Regions from separate parts of the Homo sapiens genome. Here region 2 is linked to region 1. Evidence: promoter capture Hi-C in human tissues and cell types (Jung and others, 2019). All regions are on one chromosome and are shown on one strand. Each heading gives the region's core, a stretch centred on a gene start or on the middle of the fragment in contact. The rest is flanking DNA. Distances are from core to core; before and after follow the strand shown.

What was found. The method cuts DNA at HindIII sites, captures the fragments that hold promoters and counts their contacts. A contact is called where the count stands out against the background at its distance.
Region 2: a fragment that was not itself captured here is called in contact with the fragment with the promoter of ZNF777 in region 1 in 1 of the 25 tissues and cell types used here (mesendoderm cells).

Annotation. Positions count from the first base shown.
Region 1 is chr7:149,458,785-149,463,191 of GRCh38, reverse strand. It overlaps ZNF777 (zinc finger protein 777), which reads left to right and starts at 2,130. Exons shown (of 6, transcript NM_015694.3): 1 at 2,130-2,377. RefSeq lists silencers at 2,150-2,489, 2,660-2,729, 3,020-3,099, 3,110-3,469. The HindIII fragment of the contact is 12,669 bases long and covers 1-4,407 here.
Region 2 is chr7:149,502,654-149,507,060 of GRCh38, reverse strand. No RefSeq gene overlaps it. Among named protein-coding and RNA genes, the nearest start is that of ZNF746, 7.0 kb to the right of the region's middle. The HindIII fragment of the contact is 6,744 bases long and covers 1-4,407 here.

The DNA.
Region 1 (4,407 bases), core at 881-3,380:
ACTTTAAATAATTTTAATGTTTGTGCAACACTTACCATGAAACATGTTAAAAGACAGGCTGGGAGAAGATATTTGCCATCTGCCCATCTAACAAGGTATTGTGGAGATTATATACATAAACATAAAATGTATGCTAACAACAGTATAAAAGATGGTAGGGATAACCTGTTGTAAGGTTATCACACCATATGTGAAGTGGCATAATTTATGTAGACTGTTAGAAAATTAAAGATGTATATTGTAAAACTGAGGACAACCATTTAAAATTATATGTAACTAGTAAGAGAATGGTGAAAAATAGAAATTACTAAGAAATAGAATACTAATATAAAAATAGAATTAAAAAAAAAAACCTCAACCTCAAAGCAGGCAGTTGGGGAGAGAGAGAGAGAGAGAGAGAGGTATCACTGAACACCTGGAACACACAGAAAATAACTAGTAAGATGGTAGATTTAAATGCAATCGTATTAGTAATCACATTAAATGTTTGGTGATATGATTAAGATCCAGAATAGATTTTTAATGAAATACCTATAAGCCAATAAGAAAAAGATCTCACAACAGAAACATTGGCAAATGATATGAAGAGGAAATTCACAGAGGAAGAAACCAAATGTCAGTAAACATGAAAAGATGTCCAACTTCATTAATCAGGGAAATACAAATACAAATTAAAATAATGAGCTACCATTTCACAGTCATCATGTCGGCAAACGTTCTGAGTCCATTATCAGTAAGTATGAGCCAGGATGGGGAAAGAGAAAATCACACGATAGTGGGTGTGTAAGTAGGCACCATCCCTTCAGTGAGCAGTTCGGGAAGCCGGGGAAAGATGAAGGTGCTCTTGCCATCCAGAGTCCCATGTCTAGGCGTCTCTAGAGACGCACTTTAGCAGTGCACAATGAGACATGCATGCAGATGTCGCTGGCAGCAGGTTTGTTCTCATTCCTCTAGGGGGAATGGAACGTAAACTGTAGTTTATGTATTCAATGAAATACTATATTGTGGGTAAAATGAATGAACCAGATATTCTTGTTTAAACATGTCTGTATCTCAAAAACAAAATGACCCATGGAAAAAAGCAAGTTGCAACAGGATAGGGACTGGATAATATCATTCACATAAAATGTAAAAATACCAAAACCAGTAGTGTGCATTGTTTACGAATGCACACATGTTAGTTAATGCATAAAGACCTGGGTGAGAACTCTAGCCTCCGGGAAGGGAGGGGACAGGATGCATAGCTCTGGCCTTACCTCTATCTGTAACTTTCCTTTTTTTTGTTTTTTGAGACGGAGTCTTGATCTGTCCCCTAGGCTGGAGTGCAGTGGGGCGATCTCGGCTCACTGCAACCTCTGCCTCCCGGGTTCAAGAGATTCTCCTGCCTCAGCCTCCCAAGTAGCTGGGACTACAGGGCCGCGCCACCACGTCCAGCTAATTTTGGTATTTTTAGTAGAGACAGGGTTTCATCACGTTAGCCAGGTTGGTCTCGATCTCTTGACCTCGTGATCTGCCCACCTCAGCCTCCCAAAGTGCTGGGATTACAGGCATGAGCCACCACGTCTGGCCATAACTTTCCATTATCTGAGCTGCCAGCATACTGAGTCCTGTTGCCTTCCAAGACCAGCTCCACTCCTGGGGTTCCATTAGGTAAACACAATGTCCTCTGCTCCCCCCCGCCGTCTTCCCTCACTTAAGTTAGTTCCAGTTGGGCTTCATCGCTAGTAACCAGGACGCCTGCCTATAGTTTCTTCTTTTTTTTTCCTTTTCAATTCATCCCCAGTTCTCGCCACCTCGTAGGTATTCAATTAATACATGTTTAAGTGGACCTGTCCAGGAAGGGGAGTTCTCAACTCTAAGCTCCTGCATTTCTTTTGGGACTTCTCATGGTTACAAAGAGCATTCATTCATACTGTGACTGAGGGTAAACAAGTCGCTGCCCACTCGGCCTCAGTTTCCTCCTAAATGACCCGTCTGGCCACTTCCAGCCCCAGCAGGGTCTGATTCTAGGAATTCGGTCCTTTCATGTCGAAAACAACACTCGGGCATTTCACAAAAGCACCCAACCCCCTGGCTCCCCTTGGAAGCACAGCCCGCGTCCCTGGAACCCGGGCTGCACTGAGCTGGTCACATGAACTCCGGGCTTTCTCTGGTGTGACGGGTTTCTTAGATCCCTTTGTGAGCGCAGGTTTTGAAAGGGAACGACCCCGGGTTCTGGGTGTGAGAGGCGCAGGGGATCGGCGGGAGGAAGGCTGTCGGAGCCAATCAAGCCGCCTCCAGACCCCAGCACGTCGCCTGGGCTGCGCGCTCCGACTGCGCCTCCGCCCGCGCGCCTCCCGGCCTCGCCCGAGGGTGCCTGGGCAGGCGAGGACCCCAGGTGAGAGGCCGGAGGGTCCTGGAGGGTGGGAGGCCCCGGCGGTTCGGCCCGGGCTCCACGACGGGCTGGCCCGGGCTCAGGGCGTGTCCGTCGCCGCCGGGCGGCTCGCTCGACACTGTTCGCTCCTACCGGCTGTAGATGGAGCTGTCTGGGTTCCGGCAGCCTCCGACGAGCCTCGGAGTGTTTCTCTTTAAACGGCCTGAGAGGGACATGCCTCCCAGGATGCAGTTTGTAGCAACATGGCAGCTGCTGTGCAGCTCCCCTGCTAAAGAGGCGCCGGGACGGCAGCGCAGCTCGCAGCCGGGGCCGGGGCCGGAGCTGGGGTCCCAGCCGCGGCCGCAGAGGGGCGGCGCGCGGGCCGGGGGCCGCCGTTGAGGGCCGGGGCCCAGCTCGCCGCCGGGACGCAGCCGGCCGGGCCGCCCGCACAGCCGCGCGCCCAGCTCCGACGCCGCCGCTCGGGCTCCGCGACCCCGCGCCCGCTCGCCCCGCGCGCCCCGAGCAGGCCGGGGCCCGACGGCCGCGCGCGAGCCCCGGCGGGGAAGACAGGGCTGGGCCGGCGCCGCCTGCGGAGAGCGCCGGGCGGCCGGGCCTGCGTGGGGCCGCGCGCAGTAGCGGCGGCGGCAGTAGCGGCGGCGACTCCGGGGGCCCGGGCCGGACAGCGCAGGGCCATGGCCGAGGCGGCCCCGGCTCCTGTGAGGGCGGCCCGCGCGCGCACGGACGCGCGGCCTCGGGGCCCCGGGGACGGCCTGCGTGTCCCGGGCTCGGCGGCCCGGCCTGGGATCTCGGTAAGGGGCAGAAACGCTACGACGTTGGCGCGGGGGGTGGGGGCGCCCTGGAGGGGGCCCGCGCGTCTTGACCCGGGCGGTGGGGGAGGGCTACGGGCCTCGCCGCCGTCCGTGCGAGGGAGGCTGCTCTCACGCCCGGCCCGGCACACACGCGGCCCCGAGGTGGGGCGCCCGGAGGCGCGCTCGCTCCCTGCGGGGCCCGCGCTGCGTCCGTCGGGGTAGCCGCCGGCACGTTTTCCGCAGAGCTCGGCCCCGCGGAGCCTTCCCCGGCCCGGGCGCGGCGCTGACGCGGCTCTCCCATTTCGCAGAACGGAGACACTGAGGCACAGACACCTGGCGGCGACCCGCCCTGCCGGCCCCAAGGTCACGTAGCAAGGCATCCGTGGCACGGTGCGGCAGCCCCAGAAAGGCCTGCCCAGAGGGCTGCGGGCCTGGACGGGGAGGGGGTGGCTCTGGCGGCGGCCGCCCCTGGGTGAGGGGCTGGGCCGCCCTGGCAGCGGACGCGGCCCGTCGGGGGCGGCGGGGGAGGCCGGGCAGCGCCCAGCTGGGCATCTCCGCGGTGGGAGCAGGTGACCCTCTGAGCTCCAGCCTCTGCCTCCGGCCTCTGCGTCTGGAAGGTCGTAGGCTAAACTTTGAGTGCCCTGACAGATGGTGTCTGGGGAGTAAGCTTCTCAGGGGTTGGGGGCTGATGTTCCTCTTCAGGAAGACACTCTTAAAAAATCATCCCTCAGATCCTCCCGCAGACCTGCTCTTTGAGACGCCCTGGCCGTGCTAGTGAGAGGATTACTGCATGGGAGTCAGTGCCTTTGAGCCTCAGTTTCCTATTGTGTACACAGGAAGGAGGCAGGATATATAGCTTTCTAAAAAGCATCCCAATTCTTTAATCAAAAAAAAACTCATGAGAAAATAAAATCAAACGAAGATGTTTACATGCCTTACTCTGGGCTCAGGCCTTCGGGGCCCTTGAATGGTATATAATGCTGGGTGAACCATACTGGGTCATTCAAAAAAATGCCATGACTTTCTTAATAAGTCAGATACTGTGGTTATGGATGCTTCTGCTAATGTGGCATGAATCCTGGAGAATCCATCCACTCCTGATCCGTCGGGGAAGGAGGGACCGTTAAATCCTACAAATATGGTTCAGAAGAATTCTCCCTCCAACCCCCTACCAGGAATTTGAGAATTTGAGCTTATTCGTTTTAGGTATATTTACAGCTCCCTCCCTCTCTTTGGTCATTTCTT
Region 2 (4,407 bases), core at 1,235-3,734, 44 kb before region 1:
CACTAAAATTTAAATTTGTTTTAATGTTTCTGATGAGTTGACCTTGGTATCATTATGAAATATCTCTATCTGTAGGAATGCTTCTTGTTTAAAATATAATTTGTGGACTATAACTTTACGTAGTTTCTTTTTGTTAGGTTTGCATGGTACATATTTTCCCTGTCATTTTATGTTACATATCTTCAGCTTCAAAGTATGGCTCTTATAATTTCATTGTTTGGAGATTATATTAATTCTAATTTTAGAAATTTTTGTTTTTAATTACTTCATTTCACTTAATTACTGATATATTTGCTTTTATACGTTATTATTATTATTATTTGTTTTTTCATGTTCTCAACTCTTCTATATTCCTTTTTCTCTACTTTTTAAAATCTTCTTTGCTAGTTATTGTAGTGAGCTAAATAGTGTTCCCCCAAAATTCATGTCCATCCAGAACCTCAGAATGTTACCTTATTTGGAAATACAGTTTTTATAGATGCAATTAAATTAGAGCTTAGAGTGGGCTATAAGTCAAATGATGATAATGCCCTTATAAGAGACAGAAAAGGACACACAGACTGCACAGACACATAGGTAAGGCCATGTGAAGGCAAAGGCAGGGATTGGAGTGATGCAGCCACAAGCCAAGGAATGCCAGAAGCCACCAGAAGCTGGAAAAGGCAAGGAAGCACCCTCTCCAGAACCTTTGATGGGAGCGTGGCCCTGCTCCCAAAATGCCCTGATTTTGGTCTTCTGGCCTCCTGAGCCATAAGAGAGTAAATTTCTGTTGTTTTAAGCCAGCCAGTTTGTGGTAATCTGTTATAGTGTCCCTACAAAACTAATTAAGTTATATATTCTTTTACTATTCCTTCAGTGTTTTAGATGTTACAATACACAACCATGACTTATTAAAATCTTATTTAAGTTACTACTCTTAACGCCTCTTGGACAATATAGGATGTTACAACATTTTAAGTCCATTTACTCTCTATCTTGCCTTTTCTATTATTATTATCATATTTTGAAAAACCCAACATATAATTTAAAGATGAGACACGTTATTATTATTATTATTAATTATTATTATTGCTTTACATAGTCAAAATTAATGCAGACTTACATGGATATTTACTTTTTTTGTTGCTCTTTATTCCTTTCTGCATTTACACCTTCTTTCATCTGACTCATCTTTCTTTTGCCTTAAAAACTCCCCCTCTTTATTTTCTTTAGTAAGGATATGCTGCTAACAAATTATCTGTTTTTGCTTTTTGGAAGTGTCTTTATTTTATGTTTGTGTTTGAAGGATACTTTTGTTGGGTATAGAATTGTAGATTGTCAGCTATTTTCTTTCAGTCCTTTCAAAGTGTCATTCTGTTGTCCTTTGGCTTCCATTTTTCTGTTGAAAGTTAGTGATAGGTCTTATTTATGTTATTTTGAAATGAATATGTCCTTTTTATCTGGCTACATATAATATTTCCTTTTGTCCTTTGGTTTTCAGTTGTTTGTCTGTGAGTGTAGGCCTAGTTTCCTTTTTCGTAAGTGAGGGATCTTTTTTTTTAATAGACTACTTTTAAGAACAGTTTTAGGTTAACAGCAAAATTAAACAGAAGGTACAGAGAGTTCCCATGATAAATAAACCATAGTATGTTTATCAGTTCATATCATTCCCTTTTTATTTATTCTAATTGGAATTTGTAACTCATGCAAGTTGCGCTTGTCTCATTTCATTTGTCTCCAAAAATTATTGGTCAATATCTCTTTATGTATTACTCCTACCTCTTTTCTCTTTCTCCTGTCTTTCTGGGTTTCCGATTATGCATATGTTAGAGGCCATTTCTCCATGTCCCATATTCTCTTTTAGATTTTATACATTTTTCACTATTTGTCTCGCTGTGCATCAGTCTGGATATTTTCTTCTGACCTGCATTCTGGTTTACTAATTCTTGCTTCAGCTGTGCCCACTGTGCTGTTAAACTCATCTACTAAGTTATTTATTTACATTATAGAATGACTGTTTGATTCTTTTTATCATATCTAATTCTCCATTGAAATTATCCATCAGGTCATTTATTAATCACATTTAAACTTATAAATAACAGTTAACCTAAAGTCTATGTCTGGTAACTTTACTATGTGGCTTTTTCATGAATTTGTATCTATCATCTGTGTTTCTCTTGATTCTCACTCAATTTTATCTTTTTGCATGTTTGGTTGTCTTTGATTGAGTGACAGATACTATATTTGAAAATGTAATATTTTGAGGTTGTACAAGATGTTCTCTTCTTTCAGAGAAATTTGCTTTTCCTCCTGTCAGGCAGTTAGAGTAGAAGCAGATTATCATAGATCAGTCTGGGAATGATATGATTCCAAATTGGATGTGAGTGTTTATGAAGCTGATCTAGCCCTGCAAGGGTCAAAGCTGAAAGGGTGGTGTGTTTATCAAGGCCTCTTTTCTCAACAATGAGAGCTCCAATTTGTCCTCTTGCTATCTCACCTGAACTTTTGTGCTTATCTCTTGGTATCAGCCACACTCCTTTTACAGCAACCAGTCATAAAACCTCAAGAGTAATCTTTCAAAATACCTAATTCTCCCTCCTCAGAATTTATCAGCTACTCTCCAATTCCTAAATCAGTGGTTTCCAAAGTGTTTTCTGTGGAAATTCTTCTAGAACTTCCAGTAGGGATGTGGAAGTGGTCAAGCTGCCAGGGGGCTTGTGAACTCCCCCTTCACACACACATACACACACACACACACACACACACACAGAGAGACAGAGAGAGAGACTCCCACAGGGCAGTTTCTCATTGATCCGATTTCTATATTGCACTTCTCAGATTTTTATTTGAAGAACGGGGCTTGGAGCTAAAATGATTTGATAGCACTTGACTTAGATAATAGCATCTAAATTACGTACATGAGGCCGGGTACAGTGGTTCACACCTGTAATCCTAACACTTTGGAAGGCCAAGACAGGTAGACTGCTTGAGCTCAGGAGTTCAAGACCAGCCTGAGCAACATGGCAAAAACCCATCTCCACCAACAAACAAAATTAGCCAGGTGTGGTGGCGTATACCTGTAGTCCCAGCTATTCAGGAAGCTGAGGCAAGAGGATTGCTTGAGCCCAGAAGGTTGAGGCTACAGTGAGCCGAGATCATGCCACTGCATTCCAGCCCAGGAGACAAAGTGAGACCCTGTCTCAAAAAAAACATAAAAATTACAATAAATTATGAACATGGTATACAGAACTACTTATGATCTCACCTCAGTCTTATTTCTCGCCTCTCATCCCTCACCCCATCCTATGGCCACCCACCATTCTAACCATACTGAATTTTCTTGTCATTCTCTATGCATGGTCCAATTCCCCCATATTTCAGACATTCTATTTCCTGTCTGGAATATTTCTTGACCCAAGTTTGCTTAGCAAACGTCTACTGATCCTTCTCTGTTCAGTTCAAGTTACCTGCTTTGAGAAGCGATCCCTGAGTCCCAGACAAGACTTAGCACTCCTTATTCACTCTCCTGAATTTTGTTTTCACATCTATCCCCTGATTGTTGTTGATTTGCACATCCATCTCTGACTAGACAGTGAGCTCTTTGAGGCAAGGACTGCAGCTTTCATCTTTGTGCTGAACCCTGGGCAGTTTTTGTTGAACAAAGGACCATGCATACTTGGACAATCATAATTTCACATATTCTCTTTTATTCAAATGAATGCATAAATTGGCCCATATTTTTCTATATTTGAGGTCCAAATTGCATCTCCCAGACTATCTCTTAGCACCAATAAATGACATAAAGATCTTTTGTTATACTAAAAACCGTGAGTTTTCTGTTTAGAAAATACTGTCACCTTGATTATATACGTTTCACATATATAATCTGGCTGAGGACCCAGTAAGTACTCAGTATAGACTTGTTGACTAATTTCTACTGAGTGGGTTTTGTCCCTAGCCAAGCTCAAAAGGACTCAGTGTCCCTATAAAATATTCTTCATTTCATCTGGCTAGGCTTTGATGTGACAGGCTTCCCCCACTCTGAAAGCCATGAGAGACTATTGTGAGGTCCTCAAAAATTGACAACTCAAAGGTCAGACCTATAAAACTTCAAAATCTCTTGTAAATATGAGTCAGCACCTGAGTAATAAGCTTGTTTCTATTATAATTAATAATATTGCTGGGGTGGGCCATGTTCTGCACAGTAAGTACTCCTTGAGAAATCTAATTTTTGTACCTAGAACACTATTTTCAAAAGCTGTGGAGATTTTAGTTATGGGAGAATTCAATAACTTTAGTTATTAAAAATTTTTAATGAATCTAAAAACAAAACTCTGATGCTTGTTTCTTATGTCTGGATTTTTCCATATTTCCATATTTGGAGTTTGCTCCAAATATGGAAGGGCCTCCTATATTCTTTTACCATCC